3 separate regions of the Homo sapiens genome follow, and regions 1 and 2 are each linked to region 3. Evidence: promoter capture Hi-C in 16 types of primary human blood cells and fetal thymus (Javierre and others, 2016). All regions are on one chromosome and are shown on one strand. The core of a region is centred on a gene start or on the middle of the fragment in contact, and the rest is flanking DNA. Distances in the headings are between cores, read along the strand shown.

Evidence for each region. The method cuts DNA at HindIII sites, captures the fragments that hold promoters and counts their contacts. A CHiCAGO score of 5 or more calls a contact.
Region 1: a contact is called between a fragment that was not itself captured here and the fragment with the promoter of PSMD6 in region 3, in 1 of 17 cell types (naive CD4 T cells). The highest score is 5.2, in naive CD4 T cells.
Region 2: a contact is called between a fragment that was not itself captured here and the fragment with the promoter of PSMD6 in region 3, in 1 of 17 cell types (total CD8 T cells). The highest score is 5.1, in total CD8 T cells.

The regions. Positions count from the first base shown.
Region 1 is chr3:63,960,036-63,963,799 of GRCh38, reverse strand. The region is part of intron 5 of ATXN7 (ataxin 7); the gene reads right to left. Among named protein-coding and RNA genes, the nearest start is that of PSMD6-AS2, 42 kb to the left of the region's middle. RefSeq lists an enhancer at 2,888-3,387. The HindIII fragment of the contact is 3,500 bases long and covers 1-3,277 here.
Region 2 is chr3:63,982,988-63,986,934 of GRCh38, reverse strand. ATXN7 (ataxin 7) reads right to left here. Exons shown (of 13, transcript NM_001377405.1): 8 at 3,914-3,947. Among named protein-coding and RNA genes, the nearest start is that of PSMD6-AS2, 19 kb to the left of the region's middle. The HindIII fragment of the contact is 596 bases long and covers 1,415-2,010 here.
Region 3 is chr3:64,021,529-64,024,909 of GRCh38, reverse strand. PSMD6 (proteasome 26S subunit, non-ATPase 6) reads left to right here and starts at 1,416. Exons shown (of 8, transcript NM_014814.3): 1 at 1,416-1,635; 2 at 2,387-2,592. The coding sequence starts at 1,491. It overlaps LOC105377121 (a long non-coding RNA gene), which reads right to left and starts at 835. Exons shown (of 3, transcript XR_940906.3): 1 at 759-835; 2 at 168-285. RefSeq lists a silencer at 1,208-1,307 and enhancers at 870-1,491, 1,458-1,807, 1,492-2,114. The HindIII fragment of the contact is 6,204 bases long and covers 1-3,381 here.

The DNA of each region.
Region 1 (3,764 bases), core at 278-2,777, 61 kb after region 3:
GGTTCACACAGACAAAAAGCAAGAAACAAAATGAATGTCCATAGAGGGCCTGGCAGAGGAAGCTACAGCACAGCCACACTTTAGAGCAGTATGCAACCATTAAAAAGAGGGGATTAGTGTTATCCAGGGCTGTGAATGGATTTACATGAGGTATTGTTGAGTAGAAAAGGAGCAGAAGTGTGCATAATAGGATCCACTTTTTTGTAAAACTATCACCAAAAGCCCCTACTAATAAAATACGTGATTCTATGTGCCTGGATAGAGTTAGAAGCATGAGAAAAATATACAAGGATGCATATTAAGTTACATACTAAGAATGCAGCATGTATGATTTATAGCGTAGCATGGACTGCTACAGTTAGAGAAGGCAGGTAAGTTGAAAGAGCCAATGAAATAAGAAAAAGGCTGCACTGAAAATAGTTGAGATGATTACATTTGTGTATTTATATAAAAATACGTTATAGGTGTATATATTTCATATATTCATATGCCAATCAAAAAATCTATAAAGAAACAGGTCTAAAAAATTTGTGTTACAAAAATGCACTGTGAAGGTAGCTAAGAAAAATTAAATACAAAATTCTGGCCGAGTGTGGTGGTTCACACCTGTAATCCCAGCACTTCAGGAGGCAGAGGCAGGTGGATTGCTTCAGCCCAGGAGTTTGAGACCAGCCTGGGCAACATGGTGAAACCCTGCCTCTACAAAAAATACAAAAATTAGCTAGGTGTGGTGGCGTGTGCCTGTAGTCCCAGGTACTGGAAGGGCTGAGGTGGAAGGATTGCTTGAGCCCGGGAGGTGGGGGTTACAGTGAGCCAAGATCACGCCACTGCACTCTAGCCTGGGCAAGAGAGTGAGAATCTGTCTTGAAGAAGAAAAAAAAAAAAAAAAAAGAAATACAAAATTCTGGTATTACATCAAACAAGTGTATCTTGATTATTGTCACTCTCTTAATTTGTTTGGCTAAGCAGACTGAGACTCAAGTAGCACAACAGACCACAGTTGAATCACCCAGAAAAAGGCCTATTAGCCACTTTGGCAAAATAACATCTTAACTCTCTAAAGCTCACTACAAATCTTCAGTATTAGAAGTTGTAGGCCAGGCATGGTGGTTCACGCCTATAATCCCAGCACTTTGGGAGGCTGAGGCAGGCAGATGACTTGAGGTCAGGAGTTCAAGACCAGCCTGGCCAACATGGCGAAATTCTGTCTCTACTAAAAATGCACAAATTAGCTGGGTGTGGTGGTGCATGCCTGTAGTCCCAGTTACTCGGGAGGCTGAGGCACGAGAATCACTTGAACCTGGGAGATGGAGGCTGCAGTGAGCTGAGATTGCACCACTGTACTCCATCCTGAGCGAGACAGTGGGACTCTGTCTCAAAAAAACAAAACAGAAGTTCTAACGACCTTTTTAATAAATATATCAAGCATAAGAGGCAACGAAACAAATTTCATTCCAAAGTTTATTTGTGACCTGAAGAGAATACAAACCAAGAACTCTATATTGTGTGATCAGGGGCTATTTGTATTTTATTTTAAATGGAAATAATTATCTGTTCTTCTTTTTTAACATTCAAATGCACAAGATGAAAAGGTATAAAATTACTTTGAAGTAAACCTCAAGAGTGGGATTTCTACATACAAAATGTGGGATGAGGGAAATAGCTAAATTTAGCTATTGGGCCCCTCCCAAACCAGTCTGTTTTATGGACTTGGACTAGTACATACATCAGAGGAATTATTCCAGTCAGGTAGTAGGTACCACAGCATTAAGAAGTGATAAAAACTCCCTCTTCTGGTCATATGTAAGATCACAGCTTAGTGGGGTTGAAATCGCAGGTGTGTTTATCTTAGTCATCGTACAAATTAGTCTTGTGAAATGACTGTCAGGAAAAGTACTTTTTAGAAAATATAAATAAAATATGGATTTATATCCCGAAATATCTCCATTAAAGCTGAAGCATGGCAATCCTATAATAGCTAATGATTTCTACATGTAGCAGGCAAGTCAAGAGTGACACTGGTGAATATCAACAATTCATATATATATTAAATAATAATTTCTTACTTAATTTTTATTAAGCCTTTTTAAAAAAAATTTCCAACTGTTTTTTCCTCTACTTTATTAAGGTATAAATGACAAATAAAAGTTCTATATATTTACAGTACAGTGTAATGTTTTGATCCATATACACATTATAAACAATTTATATATATATAAAGATAGATATTGCCAGAAACTCACATTTTCACTGCCTTATTATTGTGGCAACCCAAATCAGAACTGCTGAAGTAGTTCATCAAATCACAGTAGTACAAACCTGGAGGGCACTGTGACCAGGTTCCATGCGGAGAATCAATATGCTAAAATACTGACAGACATTCCCAAAGAAGGACGGTCCTTAGAGCACTGTATACAGTAATGCAACACTGAAGATCTAAGTGTCCATCAACAGGAGTCAGGTTAAGTGAAAATACATTAATAAAGTGGAATAACAGGCAGTCCTTAAAAAGATTATAGCAGAACAATATGTATTAACATGAAAAAATATTTTAGATAGATTATTAAGTTAAAAATGTAAATTCACACTGAATCTACTTTTTTTTATGTGAGGGGAAAAAATACATTGGTAAATATTACTTTGTCCAGGTTCTAGGAACCCTCCAAGAGTACATGTCAAACTGTACCCCTGAAAAGTAAGATGAAGGAGCTTTCTTCAGTCTGATTGCATACTTATCCTCTGGTTGTTTAATTTCTTTTACAATGTATTTTATTTTAATAATTAAAAACAAATTGAAAGGCAGTGGTTTTTGTTAGTCAATAAATTTTCACAATTACCCAATGAATACATGAGAAGTCCCAGGAAAGTGCACACAGTATCTTTTGTTTCCTGGCTTGTATGACTAGATTACAGAAACATTAAAAAACTGAAAAGAAAAAATGACCCCCCACCCCCAACTTGGCATCACTGCAATAATTATTTTCTTCTATAATCTTTAGAAAATGCCTAAAGACTTAATATAATACATCAACACTTTTTATTCAGGTCAGTGCACCTCATTAAAAATAAATGCCCATATACAAACTGAAAGAACAACCTCCTGATCCATAAGCTCAAGTAAATTCATCCAGCTGCTTGAGCCAAAAACCCCATGAGTCATTCCTCCTCCCTTCCTTTCCCAGTCCATCAGCAAGCCCTGCTGGCTTTATATTTCCGATGCAGATTTTAATTCTGTTCACACTTCTCTGCCCCTGCTGCTACAATCCTAATCTAAGCTTTCTCTCCTGATCCAGCTCTCACCTTAACTAGTATAAAACAGCTCACTAACTGGTCTCCCTGGTTCCACATTTGCCCCGTGTTCCATACAGCAACCACGTGATCATAACACTTCCTGGCCAAAACCCTCCAGCGACTTCCCATTGCCTGCGCCGTCCAATCCTGATTCTTCTCATGGCTTGCAGGGCCCAGTGTCATCTGGTCCTGGACCCACTTTCTCCAGTTTCAACTTGGACCCCTTTCCTCCTTGCACACTGTCCTTAGGCCTCCTCACTGGCCTTTCTGCCAAGACCACTTCCATCTAAGGACCTCTGCACTTGCTATTTCCTCTATGTGAAGCACTTGTCCTCTACATCTTCAAATGGGCTGGCTCTCTTTCATCACTGAGTTTAAACATCAACTCCAGAGACAGGCTTTCTTTAACTAGCCTTACCTAAAGTGGTCTGCCCCAGTCATTTTCTCTCACATTATTCCTAGCATTTATCACT
Region 2 (3,947 bases), core at 463-2,962, 38 kb after region 3:
CCCACGTTTCCTTCTTTTATATTACAAAATATTGTAAATGTGTGTGTGCATGCCCCTACACATAATACAAATGTATTGGCATAGTTGGTACAACTTTAGGGACTTAAAAAGGGAATTATGCTTCTAACTACCATTTTCGGTTGAATAACACAACCCACCTCCTTACGAGACACACTGCAAACTATGTCTACCTAAATAATCTAACCTGGCACAGACAAATGTGTTTAGCTTTTTACATTTTTACTTGATTTTCTTTAATATGGAAAATATCCCTAAGAAAGTAACCTAAAGACCAGGAACTTTGTTTTGTTTGTGTTGTACCAGCATCTAGAAGAGTACCTGACGCTCAAATGCTTCAAACAAAAAGTTTATAAAAATAATGGCCCTCCAACGTGTGTTGAAAGAACGAATGAACATATAATATTACTGGTCCACCTGCCTGTCTCTCCAAGCAGATGTATAAACCTCTCCTCAGCTTGAATGTTCCCGGTGCCTAGCACAGTACAGCCAAATGAAGAAAGCAGGCAGATACATTTTCCCAGCTCAGTTTGAAGCCTAAGTAGGGTTTCCACTGAGCTGTGAAGAACATTCCAAACAGAAATCCGATAGGGGTTGCCCAAGGCTCACAGGATAAAGACTGACTGCATAACTAGGCTCCGGAACCCTGCACACTCTAAGACCCTTGCTTACTGCTCCCTGCTCCTTTGGTCCCGCGTACCTCTTCTTCCCTCTTTCTGTTCAGCCACCTGGCTGGCTTTAAGGTTCTAAGGAATTTGCTCTGCCCCTGTCACAGAGCCTTCACACATATTGTTTCCTCCACCTCTCCTACCTCTCCCATCCCTCTCAAGCCCAGATAAATCATCACATTGATTTCAGCCCAATGTTCCTATGGCAAGAAAGCCTTCCCTGGAAAAACTTCATTTTTGCAGGCTTTCATAATGTAGTCCTCTCATCTTTTTATAACTCATCAGTGGTAATTTTACAGTTATTTTGGTGATTAATACTCTCCATCTCTTTCATTAGACTGTAAGCACCACAAGCATAGGGAACACGTGGTTATTGTGCTAAACCCTTTATTCCCTGCGACCTAGAAAGAGTGAGGCCTGTGCTCACAGATGTACGTAATAAAAAGTTCTACAATGAGTGAATGGACAAAGGCTACAGGAGTCACAAATCTCTCCGCGTGGAAGGCACAGAGGACTTTCGACGGGATATTAGACAGATGAAGAAGTGAGGAGGGGCAGTGAGGATGGGAGACAGACAACAGAGAATGAGTAATGGGAATGAACAGCAGCAAATCCCCTGACGGTGAAGAGAACAGATAACGTTCTAAGTCTAAGACAGAAGAGACCTGGCAGCAACTTGGGAAACACTCAGGGTAGGGACATGCAGGCATGTTTAGCCCTACCAAGCTTAATAGATTCAGACCAACGTGAAGGCAAGGAAAAGGAAAAGAACTGACAAAACAATGAAAAAAAGTCAAGTCATCCTGTAAAAGGGCAGGCCTGGTGGATGCTGCATTTTCTGCCAGTTCTATGCTGATCTCATGACAAGCTGGGTCTCAAGACTTATTAATGCAATGACAGGCTTAGCCCAATGCCACGGAGAGTAATGACACCCTTAAAGAAGGACGACAAGGGGAGCATATATCATTTGAAAAGGAAGATGTGAGAAAAATGCAGACCCATTCAAAGTCACTCCACCTAGCAATAAAGGCACAGGAAGAATGCCAGTCAAGCTCCTTGAAGATTTTGAGTTGAAAAAAAACTTTTGGCAACCTCACTTCTGGGTAGTTATCCAAAATAACTGAAATCAGAATCTCAAAGAGCTATTAGAACTCCTATGTTCACTGAAGTATTATTTATAATAGACAAGATGTAGAAACAATATAAATGTCTGTCAACAGGTGACTGGATGAAGACAACATAGTATATACATACACTGGAATACTATTCAGCCCTTAAAAAGAAGGAAATTCTGCAATATGCTACAACAAGTATGAGGTAAGCTTGAAGACATTATACTAAGATAAATAACCCAGTCACATAATGACTAAACACCGCATGATTCCACTTATATGAGATCTATAATCAAACTCACAGAATCAACAACTAGAGTGGTGGCTGCCAGCGGCTGAAGGGAGAGCGAAATAAGGAGTTACTAATCAATGAGCATAAAGTTTCAGTTATAGCAAGATGAACAAGTTCTAGACATCTGCTGTATAATATTCTTTCACAGTCAACAATACTGTCTTGCACACTTAAAGGTGTGGTTCCCTGCCACGCTTTGTAAATGACTGAAAAAGAACATCTTGGGTTTGAAAAAAGCAAACCTCATTGCCCACAGGTACTGTATTACTGAGAAATCCATGTTACTGAGAGTCAGGTAGGCAGGAAGAGCGCAGAAGGAGAATGGCAAGTTGTGATCATGATGTGGACAGGGCTGAGGCATGCTTTCACACATTCTCTTAGGGACAGCTGAAACTGACATAATTCTACAGAACTCAGGTGGCTATCTTCATACACCACCACCACTACACCACTGTGTGTCCAATTAGTACCCTATACAAAAAAAAAGCAGTTTGTTTTATGAGAGTTTTTAACCTAGAAATCCAAGGATGGGCTTGGGGTGGGGGTGTCCATTAATCCAAGATAGAAAAATTCAGAATGTGTATGTGTATGCACTATTTTATTCTCGGAAGATGGACCGTGGTTTTTTTTTTTTAAAAATGAGATATTTAAAGGTACTCTTGACCAACCCTTTTCCCCAAAAAGGTTCTGAACCACTGTTGTAAGACAAAATCTATATACTAAAATTAAATTAGAAGCTTAAAGTAAGAACCACTTAAAAATTTCCCACTCCAGAAGACTGTAACATGCCTCCACTGGCTGGGGCATGGGACAGGGCCTGAAGTCCTTTATTCAAATACACTTTAATAAAATTTAAAGTAAAACACTAACAATTTTATTAATTTTTAGAAGAAAATGCTAACTTTTATCATTTTTACTTCCTCCCTCTAAGGTTTTAAAATTACATACTTCAAAGCAGTGACTCTGAATGCTTCTTGAACCTATCTGGGGGGTAGCTGGGGACACCCTCCAGAGAAATGCACATCAACATACAAGCTCATTTATGTAGAGGTGTTCACTGATGACCTGAAGCCACCCCACATCAATAACCCACACTTTTCAGCAAATATACCTTATTAGCATACTGGCATTTTAAAAGAAGGAAGACCCCAGAGCAAAAAGGAAGACCATTACATTTTCTTAGCTTGTATATAAATTATTAATATATTTTATCTAGTTTTTTTTTTCTCTTAAAAGAGATGGGTCTCGTAATGTTCTCCAGGCTGGACTCAAACTCCTAGGCTCAAGCAATCCTTCTGCCTCAGCCTCCCCACTAGCTGGGACTTACAGGCATGCCTGGCTTGCAGTATTTTTTTTTTAAACTAGAAAACAGGGATATTTCAAAATCACAGATTTTTTAAAAAGTGGTTCTTTAAAATTTAAGACCATGGGTGACACATTTTTTAAATGTTCATACACACGCAAGGGAAATTTCTGCACTTGCTTTAAGCCAGTATAATTTAAAGCACAGTCAAGGGTAGCCTATATGGAAATATTAAAAGTTTTTAAAAATAACAGACTGGGAGAGAACACTATTCCTGTGGATACAACACTGCTCATTAGAAACAAAACCTCTGTCAAGATTATAATTTATAACAACGCACTTCACATTTTGTCAATCTGAGGCTTTCTTCAACAGAACCAAGTTATTCCTTCACCTACACAATTCACAACAATCCACAGAGCATCTTCTCTGGGTTAGAGAGACTGTGGGAGTAGTGTGGTACATCCCAGTCACCCATGTTTATCAGGATGGTCGACTTGACTTTCAGGAGTCCACCTACCTTGCATGTCAAAGACCGGGTGCAGGGCTTCTTG
Region 3 (3,381 bases), core at 167-2,666:
AAGTTTAGCAGTGGTGGAGAGCTATTTAATAGTATTTTTTTTTTACTCTTCATATTTTCTCTATCATTTGAGTTGTCTTCAAAATGCTTGTTTCATTTTTATAGAAACAAATAATAGATTTAAATTATGTGATGATGCCTACTGCCTGTGAGATGTGGCAGTCTCACCTGTTTCAGCAGCTGTGTAAACTGGTTCAGCTCTTTTGGAAAACCATTTAACATTAAATATCCCCAAGTCACAAAATCCTTCTTCCCTTTGTCCGTTATTCCTTCATGGGATTTTATGCTAAGGAAAAAGATGCAAAACATGAAGTGATCTAGACATCCAAAGTCTTCATCCAAGTTTTTATATTAGGTAAGTAAAAACTCTGGTCAACCTAAAGACACCTCTAACAGAGGGAAGAGTGAAAGTAAATTATGGTAAATCCATTAGATGGAATTTAGGCCAGGCATGGTGGCCCACACCTGTAATCCCAGCACTTTGGACGACTGAGGCGGGGGAATCACTTGAGGTCAGAAGGTCAAGACCAGCCTGGCCAACATGGTGAAACCCCGTCTCTACTAAAAATACAAAAATTAGCCCGGCATGGTGGTGCAGGCCTGTAATCCCAGCTACTTGGGAGGCTGAGGCAGGAGAATCGATTGAAGCTGGGAGGCAGAGGTTGCAGTGAGCCAAGATTGTGCCACTGCACTCCAGCCTGGGTGACAGGGCAAGACTCCGTTTCAAAAAAAAAAGGAATTTAATGTAAAGATTACCACCTCTGAAGATCTGTAGCAATGTGAACAAAAGGAAGCTGAAAATGCAGGCATGTAATGATTTAATTTATGTGTAAACAAAACGATGATGCTGTTGTACTATGACGTAGAATCCTGGGTGCAGTTTTTTTTTCTTCTTAAAACCGCAGAAAGAATGTGGATTTTAGAGTTCTAGATAGGGGTTTTCATTTAGGCCTTGCGACATGGCTGTTACATGACCTTGGTTGGTCTGTTTCCCTAACCTCTTTGTGCCTCATTTGTCTTACCTACTAAATAGGCTAATAGTACTACCTCGCAGCATGAAGATGATTTTAATAAGATGAATGAGAGTAACGACTCGACAAACTATGGTGATTGTTTTTATTAATGCTGTTATTACATTTTCAGTTTTCAAAAAATTTTAAGCTCCCATCAGTTACAAACGGAAAGTAAAATAGCTAAAAAGGGAGTGAGAAAGAGATTCAAGAAATTGGGCTTTTGAGTTGGGCTGCACCCACTCTGGGACTCCGCAGGGGGCCTTGAGGGTGGAAAAGCCCCCGTGACCACACAGGGGCGCAGGCGCCCAGGCCGGGTGAGGCGTTCCCGGAGGTGTCCAGCAGAGGACGCTGCCGGCGGAGACGGGACCGGAAGCCGGGCCGCAGGCGGCCGGGCGTATTCGCCGACTCCTCCCGCTTCCGCTGCCGCAGCCGGTCGTAACCAAGTTGTGTCCTGTCAGCCGCTGTCCCCTTCGCCGCGATGCCGCTGGAGAACCTGGAGGAGGAGGGTCTGCCCAAGAACCCCGACTTGCGTATCGCGCAGCTGCGCTTCCTGCTCAGCCTGCCCGAGCACCGCGGAGACGCTGCCGTGCGCGACGAGCTGATGGCGGCCGTCCGCGATAACAGTGAGGCCCGCACGAGCGCCGAGTCAGCGGCCTAGGCCTGGGCCGTCCCCGCGTTCCGGAGCCTGCGGGGACTTTTTTTGATGGAGCTCCAGACCCCTCTGACGGGGTCTCAGAGACCAGGCCTGGCTTCTCCGGCCCTTAGGGTTTTGCTTTGGTTTGGGGATACCCTGGGGGACCTCGACTTGCCTCAGCGGGGTCTGCATCTCTCTGTGCCGCCTTCCCCTGTAAGGGCAGCTTGGGGGAGAATCGTGAGGCATTAATATTTACCCCTGTGCTAGGCACAGAGTAAAGGCCCCGTGACTTTCTGTCAGTGGGGACTGCTCCCGGGCGCGGGGTATTCCTGTGGGAGAGTTCAGCTTGCCTGTGGAAGGGAAATTTGGGTTCGGTTCTTTCTGGCCCTTCTGTAGTGAATGTGTATGTTTGAACATATGTATGTGAGTATGTGTGTATAAAAAGTCTTTCCCTGTTTGAAGACTTTTGGAACAGAATCCGGCAAGAGCAAACCGAGGATTGCCCTCCCTCCAGCCCTAGTAGAGGTTGGCATTGCCAGGATTGGCCGTCACGCAAACCTCCCACCAGCATACGTTTATGTTTTGCCAAGCCGATTATTAAGCGCCATCGCATGCCTTCCTGTTAGTGGGGAAGAGACTGGTGGATGACTTGTGGCGGGGCGGGGGGTGAAATACGTGGGCAGACTTTGACTTGAGGGCACAAGTGTCCCCACTCACACATCCCTCTTTTTGCATGTTAGACATGGCTCCTTACTATGAAGCCTTGTGCAAATCCCTCGACTGGCAGATAGACGTGGACCTACTCAATAAAATGAAGAAGGCAAATGAAGATGAGTTGAAGCGTTTGGATGAGGAGCTGGAAGATGCAGAGAAGAATCTAGGAGAGAGCGAAATTCGCGATGCAATGATGGCAAAGGCCGAGTACCTCTGCCGGATAGGTGACAAAGTGAGTAGAGATGGTTTTCCCTCTCTGTAGTTAGTATAGGCTAAAATTGGAGACTATTCCAGGTAATCGTTTCTCATTAAAAAAATTAACTTCGTTTTAGAAAAAGTATAAAGGTAATCATGCTTGCTTGTACTGGTGAATCAATGTAAAGATGAAAAAGTCGTCTCCATGAAATGCCTTGTCATTTCCCCAAACAGCAGCTAGGGCTGTATTCTTCCCCATTTCACCCCATGCCGATAAAAACGTAAGTGTACATCTAGAGAATTTTATTTACTGCTTTTACAAAATTGGGATCATTTTCAGCAGTTTTCTCACTTGGTTGGGAAGCACTGGTTCTGGTGTCTTTAGTACTTTACACGAGTAATACTTAGCAGAAACTAAGAAACAGTATAGTAAATGCTGAAGTTCTGTTATCTTTCTTTACTCTGTACCTGCCCAGGGATAGGCTTTTCAGTTCTTTTATTGTGCATTTATGCAAACTTTTTGGTAATTTTTTTTTTTTTTTTGAGACGGAGTTTCACTCTTGCCACCCAGGCTGGAGTACAATGGAGTGATCTTGGCTCACTGCAACCTCCACCTGCTGGGTTCAATCGATTCTCCTCCCTCAGCCTCCCGAGTAGTTGAGATTACAGGCGTGCGCCACCACACCCAGCTAATTTTTTTGTATTATTAGTAGAGACTGGATTTCAACATGTTGGCCAGGCTAGTCTCGAACTCCTGACCTCAGGTGATCCACCTGTCTCGGCCTCCGAAAGTGCTGGGATTATAGGCGTGAGCCAGTGCACCCGG